4 separate regions of the Homo sapiens genome follow, and regions 1, 2 and 4 are each linked to region 3. Evidence: promoter capture Hi-C in 16 types of primary human blood cells and fetal thymus (Javierre and others, 2016). All regions are on one chromosome and are shown on one strand. The core of a region is centred on a gene start or on the middle of the fragment in contact, and the rest is flanking DNA. Distances in the headings are between cores, read along the strand shown.

The links. The method cuts DNA at HindIII sites, captures the fragments that hold promoters and counts their contacts. A CHiCAGO score of 5 or more calls a contact.
Region 1: a fragment that was not itself captured here is called in contact with the fragment with the promoter of BEND3 in region 3 in 1 of 17 cell types (total B cells); the score reaches 6.1 in total B cells.
Region 2: a fragment that was not itself captured here is called in contact with the fragment with the promoter of BEND3 in region 3 in 1 of 17 cell types (naive CD8 T cells); the score reaches 7.5 in naive CD8 T cells.
Region 4: a fragment that was not itself captured here is called in contact with the fragment with the promoter of BEND3 in region 3 in 1 of 17 cell types (M0 macrophages); the score reaches 5.2 in M0 macrophages.

The regions. Positions count from the first base shown.
Region 1 is chr6:106,340,300-106,343,815 of GRCh38, reverse strand. No RefSeq gene overlaps it. Among named protein-coding and RNA genes, the nearest start is that of ATG5, 16 kb to the right of the region's middle. The HindIII fragment of the contact is 2,511 bases long and covers 1-2,508 here.
Region 2 is chr6:108,052,272-108,055,825 of GRCh38, reverse strand. OSTM1 (osteoclastogenesis associated transmembrane protein 1) reads left to right here. Exons shown (of 6, transcript NM_014028.4): 3 at 1,239-1,336. Among named protein-coding and RNA genes, the nearest start is that of OSTM1, 21 kb to the left of the region's middle. The HindIII fragment of the contact is 1,714 bases long and covers 1,100-2,813 here.
Region 3 is chr6:107,114,106-107,117,571 of GRCh38, reverse strand. It overlaps BEND3 (BEN domain containing 3), which reads left to right and starts at 2,057. Exons shown (of 4, transcript NM_001367314.1): 1 at 2,057-2,482. RefSeq lists enhancers at 42-807, 808-1,571 and silencers at 2,164-2,213, 2,254-2,303, 2,434-3,343. The HindIII fragment of the contact is 6,658 bases long and covers 1-3,466 here.
Region 4 is chr6:106,382,426-106,385,739 of GRCh38, reverse strand. All of the region lies in intron 1 of CRYBG1 (crystallin beta-gamma domain containing 1), which reads right to left. Among named protein-coding and RNA genes, the nearest start is that of CRYBG1, 23 kb to the right of the region's middle. The HindIII fragment of the contact is 556 bases long and covers 1,777-2,332 here.

The DNA of each region.
Region 1 (3,516 bases), core at 4-2,503, 770 kb after region 3:
GAAGGTTAAATAAATGTGGCTACAGGCGCATGCCACCACACCTGGCTAAATTTTTGTATTTTTAGTGGGGACAGGGTTTTGCCATGTTGGTCAGAGTGGTCTTGAACTCCTGACCTCAGGTGTTCCACCTCCCTTGGCCTCCCAAAGTACTGGGATTACAGGCATGAGCTGCCACGCCTGGTCAAAACATCCTGCTTTTTAAATGAAGTATCAGATTAAGACATGTAGGCAAAAAAGCAATGTAGCAGCAATGCATGAAGAATAGGTTTATCTGTTAATCCCTAAATAGCTGGTATTTGAGTATCAGGAACTACAGAGACATCTAGAGGGGAAGAGGAAAGGTCTGAAACCGTGGCCAAGAGACGCAAAGCTATGCACTGCCCCTCAGAACTTCATGATGGCAAAGAACAGTTTATTGTGTTGAACTTTTGTTTACACTGATGTGTATATATTAAAATAAGACGTATTTGTTAAAGTGTGGTGGTGGTCAGGAGAATACACTTCACAGATCTTTACTGAGTGAGAGTGATTGATTGAGGGCCCAGGGACTGAGCATGCTGGAGATTAGAGGGCAGTCCTATTCCATGGGACTCCTCTGACTGATGACTTTGGCTTGAGACATCTAAAAATTTCTTGTTGCACCTACCTTAGGCTAAACTGGCTTCTATCCACCTGCTCCTTTGCTCCACTGACAGCTGGCTTTCCCAGCCCCTCCTCTCTCCCTACATTTTCCTTTTCTTTTTCTTTTTCTTTTTTTTTTTTGAGACCAAGTCTTGCTCTGTTGCCCAAGCTGGAGTGCAATGGTGTGATCTTGGGTCATTGCAACCTCAGCCCCCCGGAGTTCAAGTGATTCTCCTGCCTCAGCCTCCTGAGTAGCTGGGATTACAGCATGTGCCGCCATGCCCGGCTAATTTTTGTATTTTTAGTAGAGGCAGGTTTTCACCATACTGGTCAGGCTGGTCTTGAACTCCTGACGTCAGTTGATCCGCCCGCCTCCACCTCCCAAAGTGCTGGGATTACAGGCTTGAGCCACAGAGCCTGGCCTTCTTTTTTTTTTTTTTTTTTCAGGGATGTCCCCATGTTCCCTGGGCCAGTCTCAAACTCCTGGGCTCAAGCGATCCTTCTGCCTCAGCCTCTCAAAGTGCTAGGATTACAGGCGTGAGCCACCATGCCTGACCCCCCTACATTTTCTATCACAGAGACTTCTCCTAGAGAAATATTTGTAAATTTAATCCTGTCCTGGAGTCTGCTTCTGGGAGGACCCAGACTAACATGAGTGATAAATGTCTTCTTAAGAAAATGCCTCCAGTCTAGACTGCTCCCTCAAACTCTAGATCTCTTTAGATGTTACCATAAAATTCCATAAGGATACTTTGCAGGTAATCCCCCACCTTTTTAATAGACTTAGTTTTTCTTTTTTCTTTTTTTTTTTTTTTTAGACTTAGTTTTTCTAGAGCATTCTTAGGGTCATAAGAAATTTGAATAGAAGGTACAGAGACTTCCCATATATCCTCTGCCCCCACACAGGTATAGCCCCCCACTAACAACATTGCCCACCAGAGTGACATTAACCAACTTTGAGCTCTAGGGAACACATGCTAAAAATTTTCTTCTTATCAGTTTTATAATTTCTTTGTATCATTAATATTAATACTTCAGCAAACAACAATGCTTAGAGACAGTGATTCATGGGCTAATTTTAGACAGTCCTCACTACATAAATAAGGCCTGTAGTTTACAACTGATGAACCTACATTTACACATCATTATCACACAGTGCCCATAGCTTACCATAGGGTTCACTCTTGATGTTGTACAGTCTAGGGGTTTGGATAACTTATAATGACATATATCCACCATTCTAGTGTCATGCAGAGTAGTTTCACTGCCCTAAGAGTCACTGGTGCTTTGCCTGTTCATCCCTCCCTCCCTTCAACCCCTGATTTTTTTTTTTTTTTGAGATGGAGTCTCACTGTGTTGCCCAGGCTGGAGTGCAGCCATGTGATCTCAGCTTACTGCAACCTCTGCCACCCAGATTCAAGTGATTCTCTGGCCTCAGCCTCCTATGTAGCTGGGATTACAGGTGCCCACCACCACACCCAGATAATTTTAGTATTTTTAGTAGAGACAGAGTTTTGCCACATTGGCCAGCCTGGTCTTGAACTCCCAACCTCAGGAGATCCAACAGCTTCAGCCTCCCAAAGTACTGGGATTACAGGCGTGAGCCACCACACAGGGCAATCACTTGTCTTTTAAGTGTCTTTATAGTTTTACCATTTCCAGAATGTTGTGTAGTTGGGACCATACAGTATGTAGCCTTTTTGGGCTGGCTTTTTTCACTTAGCAACATACATTTAAGTTTCATTAAATGTCTTTTCATGACTTGATGGCACATTTCTTTTTAGTGATGAATAATATTCTATTTGTCTGTATGTACCATAGTTTATCCGTTCACCCACTGAAGGATATCTTGGTTGCCTCCAAGTTTTGGTATTTGTGAATAAAGCTTCTACAAACATCCATATGGATAGAAGTTTTTGTATGAACACAAGTTTTCAACTCCTTTGTGTAAATACCAAGGAGCCCAATTGCAGGATCAGATGGGAAGATTGTGTTTAGTTTTGTAAGAAGCCACCAAATTGTGTTCCAAAGTGGCTGTACCATTTTGCATTCCCACCAGCAATGAATGAGACTTCCTGTTGCTCACATCCTTGCAGGCGTTTGGTGTTGCTAGTGGGTAATCTCGTTTTGGCATTGGTCTTGGTTAACAGCCTGAACACTAACACCTCAGCCGCCCTCACAAACTCACCCAATCAGTCACTAAAGTCCTTGATTATTCCTCTTGAACATTTCTTCTTTCCACCCTCTTCTTCATCCCACTGCCTTGCCTTTGTCATCATTTCCCAGTTGACTGTGGTAGTTTTTCAATTGCTCCCATTGCCTCCAGAGACATCGCCAGTCAAAACACACTTTATGTTAGCTGGGTGTGCTGGTTTGGGCCTGTAGTCACAGCTATCTGGGACAGTCCTAACTACATAAATAAGGCCTGTAGGTTACAATCGATGAACCTGCATTTACACATCTATCATGCAGTGTCCATAGCTTACTACAGGGTTCATTCTTGGTGTCGTACAGTCTAGGGGTTTGGATAAATTTCTAATGACATGTATCTACCATTCTAGTATCATGCATAGTCATTTTATGCCCTAAAAATCCTTGGTGCTTTCAGGGAGGCTTGCTGCCTCAGGAGCCTGAGGCAGGAGGATCATTTGAGTCCAAGGCTACAGTGAGCTATGATCGCACCACTGCACTCCAGCCTGGGTGACAGAACAAGACCCTGTCTATTAAACAAACAAACACTCACTACGGTCTGAGAAAACTTCCAAAACCACACATCTGGTCATATCATGCCTTTGATTGAGACTTTCCGTGGATCCCCTCTGGTTACAGTGTCTTTAGAACCTTTTTAACATGACCCACTGGAATAAAAACATTCCACATCAGGACTCAATAAAC
Region 2 (3,554 bases), core at 707-3,206, 940 kb before region 3:
CAATTAGGAGGGCATCTACAAGGATCATTTTGTTGCCCCGAGATCAGAACACATGAATTTGAATTGAGTCCCTTCATTATCATTTTAGAATTTCTGTAGTAGTATTCTGTAACCAGACTGAGAGTACAGAAAGTAGATGGGGACTGTCCAGGGATGAAAATGGCTGTGAATATGTGGAAGATAAAGAGGGCAAGGATTCTAGGAGAGTCAGATGGAAACGACTGACCACAAGTTCCAAGATCTGGAACCAGGCAGTTGAACCTCGATTGGAGATAGCAGGCTGAGAACACAAGGAGAGGTAAAGACAAAGGTTTACCTGAGGATAAAGACTAGGTTCCCTGGCTGAGCGCAGTGGCTCATGCCTTTAAGTAATCCCAGCACTTTGGAAGGTTGAGGTGGGAACATCACTTGCGCCCAGGAGTTCAAGTCTGCAATGAGCTGGCAAATTGTGCCACTGCACTCCAGCCTGGGCAACCGAGCAAGACCCCGTTTCTTAAAAAAAAAAAGAAGAATAGATTATTCCCTGAAGAAGGGAAAATGGATACATAAATTGTGATATACACATACATAGAAAATAAAAGGGATGAGTGAACTTGAGCTAACTCTAAGCAAGAATAGCCAGTTGCAGAGAAATACCATTTATGTAGGATTTTTAAAAATGTAAAACAATTTTGTTTCTAGACTTTACTTGAAGCCCCCACGTCAGTATTTTAGGCAAAATTCTCACCAGTTTGTTTCTCTGGGCTCCCAACTCGTGATGGATTAGAAAGAGCGAATTTTAAAAGTTACCCCATTAGGTACAATAAATGACTCATTAGTGAAGTTGGAAGATGCAGAGAACTATGAAATTTGACACAAAAAATGATAAGGCATATGAGTTTCGGTAAAATTAATGCAGGGTAAACAGTCTTATGCCTAAATAGCACTGTTAAGGCAGCATTTGATAGCTGATATTCCGTGATTATGACCTTGTGCCATCAAAAGTCCATTTGAATTTTATTTGGTATATTTTTATGAAAAGAGAGTATGTGATTATTTTAACATGTTCATGAAAATGGTTATGACTTTTTTAACTTTTGGAAAATAAAAGGAGTAAGCTTCATATATTTGGAAAATTCATGCTTGTTTGAATAAAGAATTACTGTAGTGTGAAACGAAGCTGATAGCTTAAGATATAAATGACAACATAGAATTGTTCCTTGAGTTATATTAATATACTTTTTGAATTTTTTTGACAGATTGTTTAACAAACAACAGTGAAGAATTATCAAACAGCACAGTATATTTCCTTAATCTATTTAATCACACCCTGACCTGCTTTGAACATAACCTTCAGGTATTTTATATATAATATTTAAAATTAAAATGCTGCCTTGTACAAAGGAATAATGTGCAGTTCCAAGTTTTTAGAGCACTAATTATTGATATTTATCTAAATTCATGATGTAAAGGAGTTAGTGGACCTGGATTTCTGCTCTTAAGTAAGTTCTTCTACTTACAAATCATGAAAACCTCAGTTCTCTCATTGTAAAATGGAGATAATATCTATCCTGCCTATCTTAAAGTATTTTGTAATGAGAATCTGGTGAGATAATGATTGTGAAAACATTGATTGAGGTGTGTGATTGTTTAATTAAAACACAATGGTTTTCAATCTGACTTACGTAGGTATTTTGCAGTGTAGTATGATTCTGTCTATAGGAAGTTTATTCTTTGCCTGAAATTTGCTTAAGTATGTTTTACCTACCTTAAAAAGCACTGTTTAGTAAGATAACTTTGAGTATTGAATTATGATAATAAAAGGTAGCTTTAAGAATCTTAACCTTGTAGATTATTGCCATCTCTATCTCTGACTCTTGAATTTTGGTATTGGAACTTGCCCGGTCGTGGTGAAGGACGAGGTTGGAACTCTGGTTAAAATGTAGTTTTGAAACTTACATAACAAGTAAGTAATCCCCATAGTAGATGTACACATGCTTAGGGTATAAGCATGTATGATTTCTTCTGTAATAAATGTGGTAACACTGAATTATGAATTTCCTTGAGAATAATAAAAATTGGGCCAGGTGCAGTATCTCATGCCTATAATCCCAGCACCTTGGGAGGCCAAGGCAGGCAGGTCACTTGAGGTCAGGAGTTCGAGATCAACCTGGCCAATATGGTGAAACCCTGTCTCTACTAAAAATACAAAACTTAGCCAGGCTTGGTGGTGCACGCCTGTAGTGAAGTAGAGGTTGCAGTGAGTTGAGATCGTGCCATTGCACTCCAGCCTGGGCGTTGCAGAGAGACTCTGTCTCAAAAAAATAAAATAAAAAAAATTAGGTGAACATTTCTCAGAATTTGTTCTGCAGCATGTTAATAGATGTCCTATCAGAAAGGGTTTAGTATTCCATTAAGGTTGGGAAATGCTTTACTACAGGACTTCAGAGCCTTTAGTGGACTGATGTGTGTTGTAACACTCAAATAGCAATTTTTCTATAAAGTCATCCCTTTTATATATGGCTTCACTTTCCACAGTTTCAGTTACCTGTGGCCAACTGCAGTCCAAAAATATTAAATGGAAAATTCTGGAAATAATAAGTTTTAAATTGTACACCATAAACAGTCTTCTTTTCATTTAACTTAGAGTACTTGTATGAGTTTGGTAGATTTCTAGAAGTAGAATTACTATATTGGCAGCCTAAGAAAAAGACACTAGAGAAAATTATCTCCAAATATGATGAGTTTATTAGGGAATAAGAAAGAAGTATGGTAATTTGGAATGCACTGGCAAACCACCAGTACATCCAGTGAGGGAAGGGTAAAGGGAAGCTTTTATTAGCAAAAAGGGAGAGGTTCACACAAGCTGCTTGGAAACTGAGTTCATTGGTTCCTGAGGCTCAAAGCCAAGTTGTCAGTTCATTGGTGGCGATGCCATTACTGGGCAAGTGTTCTTTTGAGTGCATCTTATCTGAATTACTGCAGTCCTAAAGAATGGCAGTGATAAACCATGTGAAAGCAGGAGTTGCAATGAAGGGCGTGAAAGGATTTCTTGTGGGGTTTTTAGAAAGTCTTTGGAAACAAGGACTCTTTTTGTCTCTATTTTGTCTTGGTCTGTCAAAAGGTGATTTCATCCTAATGTCTGCAACTTTCACATTATTAAAAGATATGTGCATTTTAAATTTGAATAAAAATTGTGGCCAGGTATGGTGGCACCTGCCTGTAATCCCAGCACTTTGGAAGGTTGAGGTGGGAGGATCATTTGAGCCCAGGAGTTAGAAATTAGCCTGGGCAAAATAGCAAGACCGTGTCTCAAAAAAAAAAAAAAAAAAAAAGGTTAAATTACTCCCCATCTAGATTATGTGCACAATTTTAGTTAAATGGATTATGTGCTCAATTTTTTTTTTTTTTTTTGAGACGGAGTCTCGCTCTGTCACCCGGGCTAGAGTGCAGTGGCGCGATCTCGGCTCACTGCAAGCTCCGCCTCCCGGGTTCACGCCATTCTCCTGCCTCAGCCTCCCAAGTAGCTGGGACTACAGGTGCCCGCCACCACGCCCGGCTAAGTTTTGTATTTT
Region 3 (3,466 bases), core at 808-3,307:
TTGAAACAAGCCACTTACTTTGTTAAGTAGATAGATCCATTTATGCAAATATAAGATACATACTTTTACAATAATATTCAAGGTCCGTTTGAGTTTCCTGAAAGTTGTTTTGAAAAGTCAGCTATATCAGTTCAATTATTGTATTTGACAGAAATCTTTTGTTTCAAGCAATATGAACAGAGAAATGTTAATTTCTATCTCTATTGTCTTATTATTTAATTTCTCCTTAAAAACCTGAGTTGTCACTGTGAAAGATTGGTTAAATATATATCCCCTCACTACACACGTTTCATCTAGTCCTCTTTCCAAAAATTTAACAAGGTCGTTTTACATTCTTAAAGCACCACAGCAAAGTGATTTAAATGCAAAATGTGCTTAAGTGCTACTTAACTATTCCTAACTCTTCTACTGGGAAATCCTAGAAAACTGAACTAATGAAATGCAACTTCTACTTTAAAAATTCTAATTATAACTGTCACATTAAATTGAAGGTGAGAATAAAACTGGTGTATCTGTTAACTAAGTCAAGCGATGTACTGTGTCGTACGTGTTATTTAATGTGCAAGTGTAAAAGTCAAGTTCTCTGCAGAAATCGAAGTGCCTCCCCTCAGTCTTCTGCGAATGTATAAATTAACCATTCTCCCCCAAGCAGTCCTCCTCCCTTCCTCCCTCCGCCCTATTTTAAATGTAGATAGGGCGACCTAAGTCTTTTGAATTTGAAGGGCTGCTATCTCGGCCCCATTCTTTTCATCATCCTGTTTTCAATGACACTGAGCACGTATAGATTCTTCTATAAAAGCACCCCCTGGATGCAGGGCTTGGTTCTTCAGGCTGCTTGCTTAATTTTGCATAGCAATTAGTACTGACTTCACTAAACCAGTAATCCAAATACAGCTCGAGAATGTTCCACGTAGTTCCTCAAACTTAACCCTGTGCCTTTTGATTTCAAGCCCGAAGGGGGGGAACTTGCATAATTACTAAATTCCCAATTGGAGTGGTCTGAAGGAGGGTACGGTAAACCCAAACTATACGTTAATTCAAACCCTCGCCGCGACTGGGCAGCAAGGAGCCAACATATGCCTTCTTTTAAAAATCTATTCTACCTATTCACTGACCGCGCAGGGCCGTGCCACATGGTCCTCCCTTGCAGCCAGTCAGCTGTGAGCAGCAGATGGGATCATTTGCATTTTTCTTTTTATACTTTCTTTGATCGGCAAATTAAAGGATTTTTCTTAAATTTACATTCTCATTGTTTGCCTAAAATACAAACGTGGCTAAACTGTTGAATTGGGCTTCCCTGACTCTCACCCAGCACCTCCCCCTCCCCCTACCCAGCCACTGAGACTTGAGAAAATACCCGAGGGGTAGATTTCGTATTTATCAACTGGGAATCTACAGTCCAAGAGTTAGGAGTAGACAGAATCAGCCTTTATTGAGTTGGTGACTCGTGTTTTTCTATTTTAGGCGCTCGGCGCAGACAGCCCGTGGGTTTGTGTTTGTGGGGTGTGTGTCTGTGAGCGCGGGCGCTTCCGAAGCTCTCGCTCCGCAGCCTCACACCCCAGAACTTCGGGTTGCAAGAGCAGATTTTAGCTCTGAGGCTCACAACAGAGGGCGGCCACCGTGCAGGGGGAGTGGCCAGAGCCAGCTTTTCCCAGCGCCAGGGTCGCTCTCCCGGGTCCCGCCGGACTCCATGCCGCCCCGCGGGGCCGCAGGAGCCACCCGGGCCCTCGCGCCCCAAGGTCTTTGTGCCGGTGGCGGCGCGGGAAGACCGGCCCCGGGGGCCTGGGCTGCGGCCCAAAGGCCAAAAATGCGGGAGAGGCGTGGGCGCGAGGCGGGACAAGCTCCGCACAGTCGCCGTCCCGCAAGGGGCAAAAAAGTAGAAAAAGCCGTTTGGGGCCAAACTCTCGGGTCTGAGAAACCACGTTTCCGAGGACGAACTCGCGGTGGGAGGACACATGGGGTACAGGGGACATTGTTCGCGGCGCCTGCCCGGCGCGCCGTGGGTGCGCGGCCGCCGCCCCCGCCCCGGGCAGCCAGCGCGGGCCCACGTGGAGCCACTGCGCTGGCCGAGCGCGCCGGGCCGCCTGGGTCCCGGGAGTGCGCGCCCGAGCTCCCCGCCGCGGCCGTTCACGCCCGAGCGCCGCCGCCGCCGGTCCCGCGTGTGCCCCGCTGAGGGGGAGGGGCGGGCCGGGGGTGGGGGCGGAGGGGTTGTGGTTCCACTGCAGCGGGGGCTCCTGTGTCCTTGTGCGGAAATGACACACGGAGTCCCGTCACGTCACGCGAGAGCGCAGCGCACGGACACACACAAAGAGAGGGGAAAATACACGGCGCTCGCCCGCCCGCCGCCCCCAGCGCCTCCCCGGGCCGCCCTGGCCAGGCCCTCCGCGCGCGGCCCCCACTCCCCGGCCCCGCGCCCTCCCCCCCACGTGGCGCCCAAACTCGGCGCGGGCCCGCCCGGCAAAGTACAGAACTCGCGTCCCAGGTAAGTGCGGGGCGGATCAAGCCGGCCGCGCGGCGGCGGCAGCGTTGGCGGCTCCGGGGCGAGCGGCCGGTAGAGTGGCTGCAACATCCATGCCGGGGTGGGGGCGGGAGCAGGGGAGGGGACGCGGAGGGGGGCTGCTCCGAGCGCGCCCGCCGGTAGTAGCGCCCACCCCCGCGCGGGCCGAGCGACCGGAGCGGGCGCCGGGCGCCCACGGGCTCGCCGCGCCCATTGTGCTGCGCGCCCCTTTGTGCCCGCTCGGAACGCGGCGGCTCCATGGCGTTCTGGGGAGCACGCGCGCCGCGCGGGGGCGGGGGGTTCGCGCGGTGGAACCGTCCGCGCCGCCGCCGCCGCCCGCCCCACTCGCGCCGCGCGCCGGCCCCGCACCCCCGCCGGGCGCCGCGATGGAGCGGCCGGGGCGGCCGGAAGGCTCTGCCGTACTCGCGGCGGCTTGGCGCTCGCGCTCGGCGGGGCTTTGGCGGGGCACTGCTCGGCGTGTGGAAGGGGGTGTCGGAGCGGGAGCAGGGGGCGGGGACTGGAGGGAGATGCCGGGCGGCGAGCGGGAGGCCGGGGGAGCAGCCGCTCGGAGGAACGAAGCCTCCGGAGGCTGCAAATGGAGCGAGGCCGGCCCGCGGCGGCGGCGGCCGGGAGCGGAGAGGGATGGGCCCCGCCGCCAGGGGGCGCAGCGCTCCCTTCCCGGCCGTTCCACGGCGGTTCGCGGTTCCCGCTGCCCAGGAGCTGGAGGCGGGCCCGGCGCCTTGGGTGTGCACCCGGGCTGGCGCGAGGCCTGGCCGGCCGGCCGCAAAGCTGAAGCCTGGGGCGCTCGCCGCTCCTCGTGAGCGCTCCTTTCCTTCTCTATGATAAACGTGATTTCCCACGCATGCTTTGCCCTTGCCTCATCCGTGAGCTGTGCACCACCGATTTGGAGGCCCTTGTGTGCTTGTTTACCTACGTCTCCCTATGTAGCTATTTTAAACAAGGTGTTTT
Region 4 (3,314 bases), core at 805-3,304, 730 kb after region 3:
CTGATGAATAGGATATTGAAACATAATTGTTAGAGAGGATTAATGAGTCACCGTGGTATGCAATTCAGGTTGACGAGTCTACCGACGTTTACAATGAAACAACAATTCTTGTTTTTGTGCGATATAGTTTTCAGGAGGATGTGCATGAAGATGTTATGTGCACTGTTATTACCAACCAACATCACATCTGCAGAACTATTCAAGTCTTTGAATGATTATGTATCAGGAAAACTGAATTGGTCATTTTGTGTCAGTATATGCATGGACAGAGTAGCTGCCATGACTGGATGGCTTTCTGGCTTCACTGCTCAGGTCAAAGAGATTGTTTCTGAATGTGAGGCTATGCACTGTGTTATCCAGTAGAGAAATGCTGGCTAGCCAAAAACTGTCACCTGAACTTAACAATGTCTTGCAGGATGTGATTAATATTATCAACCACCATTAAAGTACATGCCCTTAACCCATGTCTGTTTGAGCAGCTCTGAGAGGAGATGGATGCAGAGCACACACGTTTCTCTTATACACAGAAGTGAGATGGTTTTCTAAAGGTAGATCACTGGCCAGAGTTTTTGTTATGAGAGCTGTTTCAGGGATTTCTTTTAGAAAAATAGTCACCACTGGCAGCACATTTCAGTGACACAGAATCAGTGGCAAAACTTGCTTACTTGTGTGACATATTCAACCTGCTCAATGAACTCAATCTGTCACTTCATGGGAGAATGACAACTATGTTCAAGTCGGCAGATAAAGTGGCTGCATTCAAAGCCAAACTGGAATTATGGGAGTGATGAGTGAACATTGGGATTTCTGACATGTTTCAAACATTAGCAGAGATTTTGAAAGAGACTGCACCCCAAACACAAAAGACACCTGAACTGGGAAGAATGTATCTGTGACCCATTTGTGAATAAGCCAGGTGAATTGATGTTGTCTGAGTTAGAAGAGGATCACCTGCTTGAGATCACAAATTAGGGTGGCCTTAAAAGTATGTTTTACTTTTAAAACATACTTAACATACTTAAAAGTATGAGAAAACTTCAAATCTCCATACATTCTGGATGGAATCAAGCCAGAATATTCTGAGATTGCCACAAAAGCACTGAGAAGCATGCTTCCATTTCCAACATCCTATCTTTGTGAAGCAGGGTTTTCTTCAGTGACTGCAAGCAAAATGAGATTACGGAGTAGACTGGACATAAACAACGCAATTCGAGTGTCACTCTCTCCCATCACCCCCAGATGAGACCATCTAGGTGCAAGAAAACATGCTTAGGGCTCCCACTGATTCTACATTATGGTGAGTTGTATAACTATTTCATTATATATTACAATGTAGTAATAAGAGAGACAAAGTGCACAATAAGTGTAATGCACTTAAATCATCCTGAAACCATCCCCGTCCCCGTCTTCCCCCGGTCTATGGAAAAATCATCTTCCATGAAACTGGTCCCTGGTGCCAAAAAGGTTGGGGACCACTGCTCTAAAGAACAGGGCCTCAGTTACCGATGGGAAGTCCCCAGAAAGCCAGTAGGTCAAAGAGGAGTCTCTGTAGCCTTGTTTTGGGTCACAGTTTAAACTCATGCTATTTTCCATCCTAAACAAAGGTGACACTGACCTCACACCATCAGCAGTAAGTGCTCTGCAAGCTGCTCCTCAATAGAGGTGATGTGCTGTGCTGAGTTCACACCTGCTGTCACCTGGTACCTGCATGGCCAACACTACACATCTGCAGGAAGACTTGCTTTGTTAGAAATGCAGTTTATGAACAAGGAAGCTTCTTTTTTTCTCTCTGTGCAAAGCTGACTGGCCACACACAGGGTTGAGAACCACAATTATAACTTCCCTAGCCCCATGTACTAATCTCAAAAACTCACCAGCCCAGATAGTCATCAACGATGTGGTTCTAAGTAGTGTATTCACATTGGAACACTTAGGAGATTGCATATGAAAAACTGCAGGAGGAAGTTATCTATTGCAAACTTGCCAAATATGAGCAATAGATGTGGAAATAAAGAACTGATCAGAGGAAAAACATGTGTGACATATCATATGATACATTCATATGGGAGCCTTGTTAGCGATCTGTTCATACCAGCACTTTTTGTCTGTTTTGTTTCACAGTCTTTCAGGAACTAAAGTCCAGCCTTTCAAAACTATAAACTATTCTATTATTCTAGTCTGTGTAAATTTCATTTACACATTTACATTTATGAAAGGATTGAGACTTAATACATCTGCTGTATTTGATTCTATAGTAAAAGATTACTTATCATCACTTAAGCAAAGGATAAGTTTGGGACATGCATTTATGAACATTAAACTAGAGAAAGCTTGGTTCTGGCCCCAGCTTTGCCACTGAATAGCCTGGTGCCCTTGGCAAGTCCCTTTTGGGATTTCAGTTTCCTAATCCCAACTGGGCTAGATCCTTGGTTCTCAAACTTTAACGACTACTTATGGAGGTTAAGATGCAGACCTCAGATCTGTCAAATTTGAATTTCTAGAGGAACAGAAATCTGCTTTTTACACCTGAGTGATTTTGATTTGGATATTTAACACATTTTGAGAAATACTAGATGAGGTAATATCTTCATATACTTTTAAAAAAATCTTTAAAATTCTGGTTCCATGACTAGTTCAAGTTGAACTCACTACCTCCATTCTGGAAAAAGCTACCTCAAGAGTCTTTCTGCCCACTTGATTACTTACTTGCCTTTTGTGGATATAGAGACACACACAAAAAATTGCAGGATTTCCCATTAGCCCTACTTAGATATCAATAATTTTGTAGTAAGCAGATTACTTAATAATAATAAAGTCATGATGTTCTAATTACAATTGTCTTTTGCAATGTGTCTAACTCAAGGACAATGATTCATCAGGTAATGTTATAGTTAATCACAATTTTTTATAATAATCACAAGTGTATGGATTATCATCCAAAGCTAGCTTTTGCATGCCAATAGCACAGAAACTATTTCCAAACACTTGGCTTTTGATTCTGGCATAAATATTAAAAATAAAATCAAAATTATTACAAAAATATGAAAGAAAATTATAATTCTAACAGAGATTACATTCTTTTCCATTGTATAAAGAGCAATTGGTAGAAAATTTGATTTTTATTATTTTTATTTTATTCTTGGCCTTCCAAAGTGCTGGTATTACAGGCATGAGCCACCATGCTTGGCCAAAAAATTCATTTTTAGAAGCCAACTTTACCTAGAAAGCAATAGGGAGTTTTCACAAAACTGGTGACACTGAAGGAACAAAAATTTCAAAGTCCAGATGTTTCAAAATCTTTCAGGAATGATGCT